3 separate regions of the Homo sapiens genome follow, and all the other regions are linked to region 3. Evidence: promoter capture Hi-C in human tissues and cell types (Jung and others, 2019). All regions are on one chromosome and are shown on one strand. The core of a region is centred on a gene start or on the middle of the fragment in contact, and the rest is flanking DNA. Distances in the headings are between cores, read along the strand shown. Region 1 holds the start of PTGES3 (prostaglandin E synthase 3). Region 2 overlaps LOC107984515 (a long non-coding RNA gene). Region 3 holds the start of BLOC1S1 (biogenesis of lysosomal organelles complex 1 subunit 1).

The links. The method cuts DNA at HindIII sites, captures the fragments that hold promoters and counts their contacts. A contact is called where the count stands out against the background at its distance.
Region 1: a contact is called between the fragment with the promoter of PTGES3 here and the fragment with the promoter of BLOC1S1 in region 3, in 1 of the 25 tissues and cell types used here (neural progenitor cells).
Region 2: a fragment that was not itself captured here is called in contact with the fragment with the promoter of BLOC1S1 in region 3 in 1 of the 25 tissues and cell types used here (H1 embryonic stem cells).

What each region holds. Positions count from the first base shown.
Region 1 is chr12:56,686,866-56,690,136 of GRCh38, forward strand. It overlaps PTGES3 (prostaglandin E synthase 3), which reads right to left and starts at 1,419. Exons shown (of 8, transcript NM_006601.7): 1 at 1,133-1,419. The coding sequence starts at 1,134. RefSeq lists enhancers at 526-575, 686-805, 1,304-1,829, 2,306-2,355, 2,882-3,271 and a silencer at 1,466-1,655. The HindIII fragment of the contact is 15,862 bases long and covers 1-3,271 here.
Region 2 is chr12:54,998,963-55,002,149 of GRCh38, forward strand. All of the region lies in intron 1 of LOC107984515 (a long non-coding RNA gene), which reads left to right. Among named protein-coding and RNA genes, the nearest start is that of TESPA1, 16 kb to the left of the region's middle. RefSeq lists a silencer at 2,373-2,422 and an enhancer at 2,523-2,712. The HindIII fragment of the contact is 4,658 bases long and covers 1-3,187 here.
Region 3 is chr12:55,714,796-55,717,383 of GRCh38, forward strand. It overlaps BLOC1S1 (biogenesis of lysosomal organelles complex 1 subunit 1), which reads left to right and starts at 1,251. Exons shown (of 4, transcript NM_001487.4): 1 at 1,251-1,401; 2 at 2,138-2,210. The coding sequence starts at 1,257. It overlaps BLOC1S1-RDH5 (BLOC1S1-RDH5 readthrough), which reads left to right and starts at 1,239. Exons shown (of 6, transcript NR_037658.1): 1 at 1,239-1,401; 2 at 2,138-2,210. It also overlaps a transcript of ITGA7 not described here. RefSeq lists enhancers at 1,296-1,435, 1,716-1,955. The HindIII fragment of the contact is 9,126 bases long and covers 1-2,588 here.

The sequences.
Region 1 (3,271 bases), core at 169-2,668, 970 kb after region 3:
TACTTTTCCAAAGACATAAAGTCACTCCCCTCTTCTCTCTTCTGAATGGAGTCTAAAACAAAAGAAAAAAAAGGTTCCACCTTAATTGTTCTCCATACCTTTTAGGACGTAGTTAGTACCTTGAAAAATAACCTCCCGTCAAAAAAAAAAAAAAAAAAAAAAAAACCCTGTAAAACCGGCAGTTCCCACTGTACGCGGCAGTGCCAAGAATTCTTACCGGTTAAAATCGCCAAGGCTTTCCTTTATCATCGTAAAATGAAGACTGCCATAGAATCTGTATTCACCTCCACACAAATTTAAGATCTTTGGGACGACTGTAGGTTAATTAAATGCCTACTACATACCTATTTCATCCTACACTGTAACAAGATAGTGAAACCTCACCTCAAGTAGAACATGAAACACAGAAAATGTCCGTATCTTTCCAAAGTCGACACGTGCGGAACTACCTGCTCAATGGTAACTCCTCCTCGCTGCCAGGGAAGCGGCTGAGTTTTGGCAACCTCCCGTGTTTTCAAGAGACTGGAGTTAGGAGGCGGACTGGAAGTACCCACACTCAAGAAACCCAGACACTGGAGAGGGAAGTATGTTGCGGCGTGGGCATGGCTTCCTTCTAGTTGCCTAGCAGTACCTGCAGCTCACGGCGAGGTCCGCGTGGGGCTCTCCCAGGAGCTCCGCCAGGCACCTGGCGGCACCCACCACAGGTGCACTCGACTCAGGGCCTGGCCCCGGGACCACAAAGCAACAGAACCGGAGCGCCCAAGCAGCCGAGAGGCGACCCACGAAGGTTCACGCTTCAGGGCGCCGCATGGCGAGCAGCTACCGGGAGCTTAAGGCCTAGGGTGAAGTTACCGAAAGAGGCGAGTAACCCAGACAGCCAAAGGGGTAAAAGTAGGATTTCCGGCATGGGGAAGCCAAGGAACGGTTCAGGGGTGGGGGAAGCAGACATCTGGAGGAAAAATGTCCTCCACCCGCCAACGGTAACCGGAACAAGGATCCTGGACCTCCCGCCCCCAGGCAGGAACGACTGCCACCACCGATGCGAGAAAGGCTAGGGGGCCGCTTCCAGGGAGCCCCCAACGCGGCCTCGGCCTCACTCGGCGACCTTCCCTCGGCGGGGTGTCGCACTCACATTGTGAACGGGGCAGGGGGACGGGCGAACTGGTGGGCGGGCCTCTCTGGCGGCGGCTGCTGCTAGGGAGTCGACTTCTCTCCGGTGGCGACTCCGCTTTTTCTCTCCGGTCGCGGCCTCTTCTCGCTTCCCTCAGGCGACGGCGGCAGCGGCGGGCTCGACCTCGGGCCCCAGAATGCACCGCGCGGAAAGAGCGGCTCCTCCGGTCGGGGAGAAGAGGAAAGTGTAGGAAAAGGGGCGCGAGGACGGAGAATGAACGTGCGTGCGTGCAAACGAGGGGTGGTGAGGCCGGGCGGCGGCTGGTGACGCAGCAAAATGCCCGGGCCTTGCCGCCGCGCGTGCGCAGTCCTTGTTTTTGGGCTCCGGCGCGGCTTTCTAGAGATATCTACGGAAAGGGCGGGGCCTCCCAGCTCCTTCGCGATCCTTCCTGGCGCCGGCCCCGCCCTTCGTCCGCCACCCCACCCCCACTCCGCCCCCTGCTAGTCCCTACGCGTTCCCGCCTCTCCTCCCGCTCTGTCTTCTCGCGTTAGAAAACCGTTAGTGGCCCAACTGCCCTGCCATGCGCCTTCGGCGATTTCTCTGAGAAACGGTTGCGTTGACAGTGGGAGGCAAGGCTGAGGCGGAGGGACACGGAGTCGGGATCCTGGAGAACTGAAATGGCGCGTTGGTTACTCTTGAGGGAGTAAATCAGCTCACTGAGTCATCATTCCACCACAAAAACCTGTAAAAAGCCTGTGCTGTGGAAAAGGGCTCACTTCAGAATCAAGGGCCTGGGTCCACCTCGCCATTTTTCTGAAGGTTGGAGGCTCTGTCCAGGGACAGCGGAAATTCGAGGTTCTTGGCGGAGGAGGAGCATTTGCCAATTGGGGCGGGCTTTTGCCCCTACCTTGAGACCTTAGTGCTGTAGATGAGCCAGGAAAGGTATTTGAGGGGAGAGTCTAGGTTTCTGGGAATGGAGAGAGTAGGACATTGTGTGTTTCCACGCACATCGTTTGGGGGAGAAGGGGTTCCCCGTCGCTTTGTGCAACATATTAGTAGGGTGTAGTAGGGGTAGCAACCAAGAGACCCAAAACAGTCCTGCTTAAGAAGAAGCCGCTTAACGGTGGATTGGGGAAAAATACTCTAGTGCGCTGCATTTTGAACAGGAAGGAGGTTTAACGAAAGTGCTATAAAACCTTTCTGAAGAACGGGGCTTCATAATAAGCACTAAGGTATTTAGTGTCTGTGTTGTGCAGGACAGGTAGTGGGAGCTACGAAACCTGGACCCTAGCTCAAATGCCATTAAAAAGGGAAATTGGGCGGGGCGCCCGTGGCTCACGCCTATAATCCCAGTACTTTGGGAAGTTCGGTGGGCGGATCACCTGAGGTCAGGAGTTCAGGACCAGCCCACCCAACATGGTGAAACCCCATCTCTACTAAAAATACTAATTAGCAGGGCGTGGTGGCACTTGCCTGTAATGCCAAATACTAGCTAGTATGAGGCGGGAGGATAGCTCGAACCCCGAACCCGGGAGGCGGAGGTTGCAGTGAGCACTCCAACTTGGGCGACAGAGTGAGACCCTGTGTCAAAAAAAAAAAAAAAAAGGGAAGGGGCCGGGCGCGGTGGCTCACGCCTGTAATCCCAGCACTTCGGGAGGCAGAGGCGGGCAGATCACGAGGTCAGGAGATTGAGCCCATCCTGGCTAACATGGTGAAACCCCGTCTCTACTAAAAATAAAAAAAAATCAGCCGGGTGTGGTGGCACACGCCTCTAGTCCCAGCTACTCGGGAGAGCGAGACAGGAGAATCGCTTGAACCCGGGAGGCGGAGGTTGCAGTGAGCCGAGATCGCGCCACTGCACTTCAGCCTGGGCGACAGAGTGAGTCTGGGTCTCAAAAAAAAAAAAAAAAAAAAAAGGAAGTTAACTTGGCGCACTGGTTCACGCCTGTAATCCCAACACTTTGGGAGGCCGAGGCCAGTGGATTACTGGAGATCAGGAGTTCAAGACCAGCTTGGCTAACATGGTGAAACCCCCGTCCCTACTAAAAATACAAAATATTTGGCCAGGAGCAGTAGCTGACGCCTGTAATCCCAATACTTTGGGAGGCCGAGGCGGGCGGATCACGAGGTCAGGAGTTCAAGACCAGACTGGCCAACATG
Region 2 (3,187 bases), core at 484-2,983, 720 kb before region 3:
TTAGACAAGTTAAGTTTAACAGAGTTTAATAGATTTTTTAATTAAATTTCTTTTTCTTTTTGCAGAGACAGGGTCTTGCTATCTTGTCCAGGCTGGTCTCAAAATCCTGGGCTCAAGCAATGCTCCTCCTTTGACCTCTCAAAATGCTGGAATTACAGGTGTGTGGCATTGTGCTGGCCAACAGAGTTTAATTGAACAAGAAAAAAAAAGATTCATGAATTGGGCAGCCCCCAGAATCACAGCAGATTCAGAGAGGCTCCAGGGATGCCTGGCGGTCAGAGTGAGTTTATGGACCAAAAAAGGAAAGTGATTTACATAAAACGGAAGTGATGTACGGAAATAGCTAGGCTGGTTACAGCTTGGCATTTTGCCTTACTTAAACATGGTTTAAACAACAGCCTGTGAATGGCTGGAGTATGGCTACTGGGATTGGCTGAGACTCAGCTTTTGTTACAGAAGTATACTCCTCAGTTAGATTTCCACCCTGCCTACCTACTAAGTTCGGTTATGGTTCATCCATAAGGACTTAAGTATGAAAGTACGGAAGCTTTCCAAGCCCAGGTTTTAGTTTGATGTAAAACAATTTCCCTAGAGACAAGGTTTACTTAATTTCTTGATTCCACAAACATTTATTGCTCACTTGCCATATGCCACATACTGAGATGGGTATTGAAACATGTAAAGGCATAATTCTTGCCTTCAGAAAGATCAGGACCTCATGATGGGTCTAAATGTGTGTAGATGTGCAGAAATCAAGAAATCTGTGCAAGGCGCAGTGGCAACACAAGAGGCTTGCAATAAGAATCAGAAAAGGCATCAATGACGAGGTGATTCTTGGTGAGGTTTTGAAAAATTGTTCAGAAGGCCAATAAAATAAGGATAGGAATTCTGGGTAGAGAGAGAAAAGATATAGGGACAAGAAAGTCATAGCAATTTCATGACCTGCACGCATAAAGGATAAGACGAAAGGAGTAGCCAGAGATGGCCTTGAACAGCTGACGGATGTTTTACTTCTGGAGTTTTCTGGACCCCAAATTCATGTCCTCCTAACTGAGGGAGAGCAGATCTGCCTCTTAAAGGTCTGGGCAACCCCCGTTAGGGCCCTTTCTTTTGCCACCAACTTTCCTCTCAAATTTGCCTACAATGATCCCTCCCACAAATAATTGTTCCATTTTTGTGTGACTACTTCCTTTGGAAGTGCATTTAAGGAAGAATCTGATATTTCAAAGCATTGAAGGAAAAATTTCTGGTAGTAGAATTTCTAAAAACAAAAGAAAACCTCTGACTGGATCTCTGATGTTCTTCCATATACTCAGCAACCTTCTCTGCCTCTTTATTCATTCATTTGATCATTTAGTGCCAAGTTTTCAGCACCTTACCAAGCACTGCTCTAGAGATGATCCAGGGTAGAAGAAAAGGAGAGTCTTTCCCCTGCAGGAACTCAGTCTAGAGAAAGAGAGACAGATGCATAGATAATTAGAAGTTGCAATGAGAGCTCAGAGGAGGGGCATTGTGTTTGTTTCCAGTCACTGCCATTAACAAAGTACTGGAAATTGAGTGGTGTTTATTGTAGGGTAGCAGCCTGAAATCAAGGTATCAGCTGGCCACATTCCATGAAGCTTATAGGGGAATTCTCCCTTGTCTTCTCCTAGATTCTGGTGGTGTGCCGGCAATCTTTGGCATTCCTACTCCTGTAGATGCAATACTCCAAATCTCTGTCTTCACATGGAGTTCTTTGTGTGTGTTTTTGTCTTCACATAGTCACCTCCTTTTTTTTTTTTTTAAGATGGAGTCTCACTCTGTTGCCCAAGCTGGAGTGCAAAGGTGCCATCTCAGCTCACTGCAACCTCTGCCTCCCGGGTTCAAGCGATTCTCCTGCCTCAGCCTCCTGAGTAGCTGGGATTACAGGCCCGCGCTACCACACCCTGCTAATTTTTGTATTTTTAGTAGAGATGTGGTTTCACCATTTTGGTCAGGCTGGTTTCAAACTCCTGACCTTGTGATCTGCCTGTCTCGCCCTCCCAAAGTGCTGGGATTACAGGCATGAGCCACCACACCCGGCTCATAGTCGCCTTCTTATAAGGACAACAGTCATATTGGATTAGGGTCCACCCCGCTCAAGTATAACTTCACCATCATTTAACTAATTACACCTGCCATCGCCCAGTTTCCTAATAAGGTCACATTCTGAGGTTCTCATTAGGATTTCAAAGTATCTTTTTTGGGGGAAACACAATTCCACTTGTAATGGGCACCTAATTTTTCATAGGTGTATCAAGAATATTCTTAGAAGCAGGAATGATTGAAGTAAGTGTTTATTCCAGAGAGTCAAGTAAAAATGAACTAAAACAGTGATTTAGAGAGAAATGGTCCCATGGAGGAAATGACATGAGAAGAGACACGTGAGTGTATAGAAAAGGCACAAATAGACCAGGGCAGCGTGAAGAACTTCCTGTAGCTGTAGTATACAGTATTCAAAAACAAAGTGGTGAATGTTGGGATGTGAGAAAGGCATGCAGATCAGATAGTTACGGGCTTGGTAGCTGTTTTATCCTGGTATCAGTTGAGACCATTTCTTACTTATGGACTTGGGATTTACTGCCCTGACACCACTGAAAAGCAGGAGGCTGAGCAGTTAGTAAGTGTGATGTGGGAAAGGGGAAGTGGGAGACAGCTCTGTCCTCAGCAGCTGCAGTGGTCCCCCTGCTCCCCTCCTTCCCTTCCAGAGTAGGCACAGCCATCATCACTGGACTTTCCTGTGAAATGTAAATCCCATCAGAAAGAGACTCTGTTGTATTCATCCATATATTCTCAGCACAACAGCTGGCCCAGTGTACACACTGAATTTAGATTGGTCGAATGAATGAATAGATGGAAAAGTACATTTAGCTCAGCAAGACCCTGAGCAGGCCCTGCTGACCAAGTAATGCACCTAGGCGGATGCCATTTACGCATCCTGGTGCCTGCTTTACTTCTCTTTGCTTCTCTGTCTTTAAGATTCCATCAGGGAAGGTCTTTCAAGTGATAAAGAAAGACTCGCAGAAGTCTCTAGTAATCTGTGTTTACTACAAGGCTATGTGGGGAAGTGAAATAGTACGGGAGTATACAGCAACAGAAGCCTGATTATTCCGAGTCCCAGGGATGCCAGGATGGTGAGCACAGAGAGGGAGAATGAGATAACTAAGGC
Region 3 (2,588 bases), core at 1-2,500:
ACATATATATAGTGATGTTTGGTCTTCACTCCTTAGATTCTATTTAATTAGTCTGGAATCAAGGCTTTTTTTTTTTTTTTTTTGAGACAGAGTCCCACTCTGTCGCCCAGGCTGGAGTTCAGTGGCGTGATCTCGGCTCACTGCAACCTCTGCCTCCCAGGTTCAAGCGATTCTCCTGCCTCAGGCTCCTGAGTAGCTGGGATTACAGGCTTGTGCCACTACGCCTGGCTAAATTTTGTATTTTTAGTAGATACAAGGTTTCACCATGTTGGTCAGCCTGGTCTCGAACTCCTGACCTCGTGATCCGCCCGCCTCGGCCTCCCAAAGTGCTGGGATTACGGGCGTGAGCCACCGCACCCGGCTAATCACGGCATTTTTATAAGCCTTGTGATTTCTGTGATTCTAATGTTTAGATTCTAATGCTTAGCCAGGGTTGAGAACCACCGATTTAATCCAATCCCTTCTCCTAGTTTTACTAAAGAGAAAACTATAACCTAGAATGGTGAGCAACTTGCCCAAAGTCACCCAACATGTTAGTGCAAGGTGCACCGAGAGAGATTGTACCAGTAGCAAGAATATGCTCATGATGTTTATAATTGTTCTCGCTGGAGTTAATCCCGGAAGCATTTCTTTTTAGTTCACAGAGGCCTTATATAAATTACTTTTTACTTTGGCACAGCACTTACGCTTCTGCTAACACTGAAATGGGTTCGCATTCCTGACCACAAAAGGACAGAGATGAAATTCTACATTCACACAGCCCGCCAAGTTAGCCAAGCTCCCTAGGAGGCTGTCTGAAGTGCCTAAAATGCTTCTCTACAATGATCACCCAGAGCTGAGAGACTTCAGTGGGGTAGTGAGAAGAAAGAGGGTTGGGAGAGACAGGAAAGCATCCTCTCCTTGAGGGAAGGAACTGGGAATCAACTGAGAACCAGCTAGCACTGCCAGGAGGTGAGGAGAGGGAAGGAGAATAATTTAAATGAGGCCAGGGAGCTTCTGCTCCCTCAATTAAACGGTGATAGACGGCCTGACACCACCAGCCCTCGAAGCCTGAGATCCACAGGAAATGTTAAAAACTGGCTTGGCAATATAAGTATTAGAAAATACTTCTTCCAACACTCACCAAAAACTAAGCTCCCAATAAAGAACACTTCACCTGCCCTCCGCAACCCTCTACCTCTCTTCCCCGCCAAGATCTTCACCCAAGGTCTCAAGAGGGCGGTTCCCAACCTCACGTGACACAGCGGTCACGTGACATGGCCCCGGGGAGCCGAGGTGAGCGTTCCAGCTTCCGGAGCCGGAGGGGGCCCGGCGTACCCAGCCCCCAGCCCGACGTGACCATGCTGTCCCGCCTCCTAAAAGAACACCAGGCCAAGCAGAATGAACGCAAGGAGCTGCAGGGTGAGCCAAATATCCTGTCGGCCGTTTTCTCTTCGGCCGCGGCCTAGCTTCAGCCCGGAGCCTGGATCTCGAGTAACTAACCATATCCAGGGAAAGACGCCAGCTAGCGGGCAACGGGCATGGGGGAGAGGGAATTTCAGAGAGGCTTTTTTTGAAACTCCTTTCCCTTGCCAACTGGCTCCGGTCCCTTGGGCAATACTCCGGTCCCCTCGGCAACGCCCCCAATCCCCGACCTGCCGCACCTTAGCCCCGCCCCTGCCCCGGAGCGCCCTGCCTATTGGCCCTGGGAGCCTCTCGTCCTGGCGGCGGGAAGGAGCGACTCTGGAGGGAGGAGGGTGTGGGGAACCCCCCAGAGATGGGCTTCTTGGAGGCCTGAAACCACCGGAACGGAGGTGGGGCACTTGTTTCCTGAGTCCGGGCTGGAAATCTCGGAGTTACCGATTCTGCGGCCGAGTAGTGGAGAAAGAGTGCCTGGGAGTCAGGAGTCCTGGGCGCTGCCGCTGACTTCCTGGCGTCCCTGAGTGAGTCCATTTCCCTCCCAGGGTACCAGTTTCCTCATCTCTAAAATGAAAGAGGTTGCGCTATGTTTTGCAAGGTCCTTTTCAGCTCCGGCATTCAGAGATTAGTTAAGAAATTTCGGCAACTAGCAGAATAGTAATGGATGGGTAGGGAACCTTTAACACTACCCCTCAAAAAACCAAGTCTCCCCTCCAATTCCTTTTCCCCCTCTCCCCAGAAAAGAGGAGGCGAGAGGCTATCACTGCAGCGACCTGCCTGACAGAAGCTTTGGTGGATCACCTCAATGTGGGGTATGGACCTCTTATCAACATCAGTTTCCTCCTTCCCCACCCCGCCCAAGTTTAGGCACTGGCCAGTCTGGCCCTCAAATAGCTGTTGAAGGGGTGGGATGTTCCACTAATTCCCCTATCCTACCCCGCCCCTCCCAGCTCTTTGTAGAGCAACTTGAGTCAACTCTGAGTCCTAGCACTGGGCAAGGGAGGAACAGCTGCCGTGGTTAGAGAAGCAGCCAGATTTCCCCTTCCCCACGTTAACTTCCCTGGCATTTACAACTTGATGCCATCTGCCCACCTCCCTTCACCCTTCCAAGTCCAGCTGTCACTTCAGCAGGAGGGAGAGCACCCTCCTTCATTACAGCTTACCACCCTCTCCTCTGCCTCCCACCCTCT